2 separate regions of the Homo sapiens genome follow, and region 1 is linked to region 2. Evidence: promoter capture Hi-C in 16 types of primary human blood cells and fetal thymus (Javierre and others, 2016). All regions are on one chromosome and are shown on one strand. Each heading gives the region's core, a stretch centred on a gene start or on the middle of the fragment in contact. The rest is flanking DNA. Distances are from core to core; before and after follow the strand shown.

Region 1 (2,700 bases), core at 131-2,630, 1.0 Mb after region 2:
GCCTGCCGGCCGTTCCACAAGTACTGTTTTCCCATTTGCTGACCACCGATCTCCCAGGAGGAGCATGTGTGCAGTGTGCCCGGCTCCGGCACCCCGATACACAGTACCCCTTTCCTCTGGGAGAAGCCAGCACGGTGCGAGCTGGGCAGGAGTCAGGGGCTGGGGCGGGGGGTGACTGCTCCCAGCTGCAGGTCAAGTGACTCCAGTGAGAGCGGCACCAGTTGGTGCCTCAGATGACAACGTGGAGTTCTATAGCAAGCTCAGGAGCAAGAAAATTGGACCTAGGTTTAAACTTCCTTGCCTCTCTGGGCCTGCAGACGAGCGTTCTAAAGTCCCGTTGCATCGCTTTAATGATGTGCATTCCAAGAGCTGCAGCACCCTGGGCAGCTGGAGCCCACTGTTCCCACCACACTGCAGGCTGCTCCCCATCCCTCGTGGATGGAGTGAGGACAGGGAAACTCAACTGGCCCTGCCCCGCCTCGGCGACTCTTGCGCTTCTTGTCCACACACTCGGCTCACCTTTGTGCCTTGGCTTTTTGCTAAGGGGATAAAGCTTAAAGGAAAACCCCAGATGTGGGCAGATCGGGTTTATGAAGATTCTCATTCCCTTAGAAATTAGATCAGACACAAGCAACGCAGCCCTGGTATCCCCCAGGCCACTGCACAGTGTCCTTTGGTGCAACTGCAGAAGGGGGTCTTCAGGCTTGGAGAGGAGAATTTGCAAACAAGTGAGGGAGTCCAAATGGCGTGGCCCTTTCCAGGAATGGTCAGTTGCTTGCAGGAGAGGTCACAGCTGCGCAGGCGCTCATGGCCAGACTCCGTGTCCACCTGCTGGGTGACACACCCATGGCACAGGCAGATGGAAGCCCTAAGCCCCCACCTCACTGGCCACACAGACGGAGGGGGTGTCATTCCTGGTGGTGTCTTTCCCACCAAGGCGCTCACCTGTGCCCTGGGCTGTGTACAAACGTGTGTGTGCATGGGTGTAAGAGAAGGGGTGGGTAGAGCGAGAGGAGAGGAGAACAGGACAGAGAGGAAGTATAATATCTGGGAATGAGGTGCACAGGCTCCCACTGGGCACTTTGCAGAAAGAGCCTTTGCTTTAATAAGTATGCACGTGTGAGAGTGTGTGAGTGTGGGCGCGTGCACCGGTGCGTGTGTGTGTGAGAGCGTGTGTGTGGACACATGAGCTGGTGCATGTGTCGGTGCGTGTGAGAGCGTGTGAGTGTGGGTGTGTGAGCTGGTGTGTGTGTGAGTGCATGAGTGTGGGTGCGTGAGCTGGTGCCTGTGTTGGCATGTGTGAGAGTGTGTGAGTGTGAGCACGTGAGCCGGTGCATGTGTTGGCGTGCATGAGAGTGTGTGAGTGTGGGCGCGTGAGCCGGTGCATGTGTTGGCACACGTGAGAGTGCATGAGTGTGGGCGCGTGAGCCGGTGCGTGTGTGTGAGCGCGTGTGGGCGCGTGAGCTGGTGCGTGTGTTGGAGGATGTGAGAGCACGAGGGTGGGCACGTGAGCTGGTGCGTGTGTGTGTGAGAGCGCATGAGGGTGGGCGTGTGAGCCAGTGCTTGTGTTGGCACGCATGAGAGTGAGGGGCGTGTGAGCCAGTGCATGTGTTGGCACGTGTGAGAGCATGTGAGGGTTGGCGTGTGAGCCGGGGCATGTCAGTGTGTGTGAGTGTGGGCGTGTGGGCCGGTGCGTGTGTCGGCGCACGTGACAGCGTGAGTGTGGGCGCGTGTCTGTGAGTGCGAGTGTGGGCGTGTGAGTTGATGCATGTGAGTGTGTGAGTGTGGGTGTGTGTGAGTGAGTGTGGGCACGTGAGTTGGTGCGTGTGTGTGTGAGAGTGTGGGCGCGTGAGTTGGTGCGTGTGGGTGTGAGAGTGTGTGAGTGGGGCACAGCCAGGGTGTGCTTGTTTGGCCGGCAGGGCTGAGTGCCTCCCCGAGGGCCAGGTAGGTGACCGAGGGGTATTTACAGACCCTCCCTCTGGAGGGTCACCTGTCCATCAGCAGCCCTCCAGAGAGGGCAGATTTGATGAAACGAGACAAAGTTCTTCTCCCCTCAGCCTTGAAAACGCCCCGCCAGGCTGGACGAGCAGGAAGGTAGAGCGGTTAATATAAATAGATATCGTGATGAAAGAACACGATCATCTTAGGGGAAAAGCTCCCAGCTGGAGTCGAAGGAGATCAGGCAGCCGACGATTTCTGGTGAGCAAGAAGCTTGCTGAAATCATTGTTTCCACCACGCCGTGTTTAGGAAGCAAATTGTCCTACAGAGAGAGACACTCGCCGGGATGTGTGTGTGTGGTGTGCGTGTCTGTGGTGTGTGTGTGCGTGTGTGTGGTGTATGTGCATGTGTGTGGTTTGTGTGGTGTGTGTAGTGTGGGTGTGTGTGTGGTGTGGGTGTGAGTGTGTGTGGTTGTGTGTGGGTGTGTGGTGTGGGTGTGTGTGGTGTATGTGTGCATGTGTGTGGTTGTGTGTGGGTGTGTGGTGTGGGTGTGTGTGTGGTGTTTGTGTGCATGTGTGTGGTTGTGTGCATGTGTGTGGTGTGGTTGTGGGTGTGGTGTGTGTGTATGTGCATGTGTGTGGTGTGGGTGTGTGTGCGTGTGGGGGGTGTGGTTGTGTGTTTGCATGGGGGGGTGTGGGGGGTGTGCATGTGTGTGTGCTGTGTGTGCATGTGTGTGATTGTGTGTGTACGAATGTGGTGTG
Region 2 (2,762 bases), core at 178-2,677:
GGCTCTAGTGCCACTGCTCCCTGAAACGTTCTGCTGGGAGTTCATGCCTTTAACGACTGCCTGCCCCACCCCCCAAAGACTTGATGGCTTTGCCTTTTTTTTTTTTTTTTTTTTTTTGAGATGGAGTCTCACTCTGTTGCCCAGACTGGAGTGCAGTGGCACGATCTTGGCTTACTGCAACCTCCGCCTCCCGGGTTCAAGTGATTCTGTCTCAGCCTCCCAAGTAGCTGGGATTACACGCACGCGCCACCACGCCCTGCTGATTTTTGTATTTTTAGTAGAGACGGGGTTTCACCATGTTGTGTAGACTGGTCTCGAACTCCTGACCTCAAGTGATCCACCCGCCTCGGCCTCCCAAAGTGCTGGGATTACAGGCGTGAGCCACCACACCCGGCATCTTTTTTTTTTCGTTTTTTAATCGGTGATGGGGTCTGGCCCCGTCGCCCAGGCTGGAGTGCAGCGGCACAATCATGGCTCACTGCAGCCTCATCCCTCGGGCTCAGGCGATTCTCTTGCCTCAGCCTCCTGAAGAGCTGGGATTACAGACGCCGCCACCACGTCCGGCTAATTTTCAGATTTTTTGTAGAGACGGGGTCTTGCCATGTTGCCCAGGCTGGTTTCAAACTCCTGGGCTCAAGCGATCCTCCCGCCTCTGCCTCCCAAACTGCTGGGATGACAGGTGCTGCTTCATTGAGTACACTGGCTTCTGTACTCAGCTCCCGGCCTGGTGAGGCAGGCAGGGCCTGGCTGAGCCTACACTGGGGTCAGCAGGGCGAGGGGCCTGGGCTGCTGCTCAGGCCTAGGAAAGGCCGGGGTCAGTGTGAACCGGACCGAGGTATGAGGCGTTCGCGCCGCGGGCGCTCTGACCCCTCTGCTCACAGGGGAGGATCGGAGGGAGGCTTGAAGCACTTGCCAAGGCCTCACACCTGGAGGGGACAGAGTCTTCCCCAGCCGCTGGCGTCAGCTGGACCTGCCCTGAGCTGGGGACGGGAAGGGCTTGGGCGGGAACTGGAGGCCCACGCAGGTCCCCCGCGGTGTCTGCGGCCTGTGCCTCTGGGGCCACCTGGCCAGGGAGGGCAGGAGGTGCCCCGCACATCCCTGAATGGCCGCAGGGCAGGCGAAGGAGACTGCCGGGTCCCAGGTTGTGGGACGGGCCCAGGCGACCGTGACCACACACGGCAGACACCCCGCCTCCATGAGGGGCAACACCCCCTGGGCCGCTCGCGAGGACGTCCGGCCGCGCCCGGCCCTCACCCGCCAGGCTGTGCAGGGCGCCGCCCGCCGCGCTCCGCAGCCCACCGCGGTAGTACTCGTCCTTCTGCGCCGCGCGGATCACCTCCGGGGGGCTGGCGGCGGCCGGGGCCATGGCCGCGGGTTCGGGTGGTCCCGAGCAGCCACGCCGGCCACGCCCACGCCCAGACGGGCGAGAACTGATGACGGCACGACGTGGCTCTGCGTGCGGCGCAGACCTCTGCGTCAAGGTGCTGGGGCGGGGCCGGACTGGGGCTGGAGGCGGGGCCAGGGCCCGGGCGGAAGCGGGGCTGGAGTCCGAACCAGCGCAGCGCGGGGCGGGGCAGCGGGAAGGTAGTCGGAGGCGCAGGGCGGAGCGGAGCGGGGCGGGGCCCGCGAGCCGAGGTGGGGGCGGGGCACGCGCGAGGGGCGCTGGCGAGGCAGCGGGATGGGCTCGCGGCCGCGTGGTTGCTGCGACCTCGGGGTCCTACGCTGCCAGGGGCCCCTGCTCTGCTCCCTGCACGTCCACGGGCCGCCCTCCCACTGGGGACAGCGCTGCGGAGTGGAGACGCTGCAGGCCCATTTACGGCTGGGGAGACGGAGGCTTTCGCTTGGGTCTTCGGGAAGCCGAGCTCCCAGCGCCGGCCGCGGCGGTCCCGCCCTCGCGCCCTTTGAGCTGCGCGGGCTCTCAGCGCGGGTTGGCCAGTTCCGGGGAGCCGGTCGGTTTGGGGGCCAGAGGGGCACGAGGCGAGACCCGGGACCTTCCAGGCCCCGAGCAGCCGCCTTCCCCAGTAATCCTGCGCGAAAAGCACACGGCCGGCTTGGTGTGGACGCCCCCCTGGTGCCCACGGGAGGCAGGGCCTGGCGGGTGGGGGGCAGCCGGGAAGCCGCCGCGTGGTTCCAGGACGGGCGGAAGGTGGCCTTCCACCCTCCACCCTCCACCCTGCCTGGCCTGAGCCCCGCAGGTGCTCTGGGGAACCACATCGCAGGCGCTCCGATCCCTCTGCTCCCAGGGGACGAGCGGAGGGAGGCCTGAAGCACTTGCCAAGGCCGCACACCTGGAGGGGACAGAACCTTCCCCAGCCGCTGGCCACAGCTGGACCTGCCCTGAGCTGGGGGTGGGAAGGGCTGGGGCGGGAACTGGAGGCCCACGCAGGTCGCCTGCGGTGTCTGCGGCCTGTGCCTCTGGGGCCGCCTGGCCAGGGAGGGCAGGAGATGCCTGGTACATACCTGAATGGCTGCAGGGCAGGTGAAGGAGAAGGCCCTGTTTTTTGGCCCCAAGGGCAGCACTTGGCCCTGGAGAGTCCTGCAGGATTGCAGGAGGAAGGCAGGGCACGACAAGGGGGCGTCTGCGCCCCGCTGACCTCAGTGGGGAGGGCCTCCAGTTCCTTGCCTCACCTCTGGTTCCATCTACAGGAGCTCAGCTGTGGGATCATCCCCAGACTGGCACAGCCCAGTCACAAAGCCAGAGCCCCACACTGCAGGAATGGCCCCTCTTACAGGGAAGGGGCATGGCCTGGGTGGCCCCGCCC

The links. Contacts are between HindIII fragments. The CHiCAGO score rates a contact against its expected background, and 5 or more counts as called.
Region 1: a contact is called between a fragment that was not itself captured here and the fragment with the promoter of PEX10 in region 2, in 1 of 17 cell types (endothelial precursors). The highest score is 6.9, in endothelial precursors.

The regions. Positions count from the first base shown.
Region 1 is chr1:3,407,361-3,410,060 of GRCh38, forward strand. All of the region lies in intron 8 of PRDM16 (PR/SET domain 16), which reads left to right. Among named protein-coding and RNA genes, the nearest start is that of ARHGEF16, 46 kb to the right of the region's middle. RefSeq lists an enhancer at 1,101-1,678. The HindIII fragment of the contact is 1,658 bases long and covers 552-2,209 here.
Region 2 is chr1:2,411,137-2,413,898 of GRCh38, forward strand. It overlaps PEX10 (peroxisomal biogenesis factor 10), which reads right to left and starts at 1,428. Exons shown (of 6, transcript NM_002617.4): 1 at 1,255-1,428. The coding sequence starts at 1,366. RefSeq lists enhancers at 75-655, 656-1,236, 1,237-1,817, 1,818-2,397 and silencers at 1,014-1,393, 1,554-2,153. The HindIII fragment of the contact is 16,041 bases long and covers 1-2,762 here.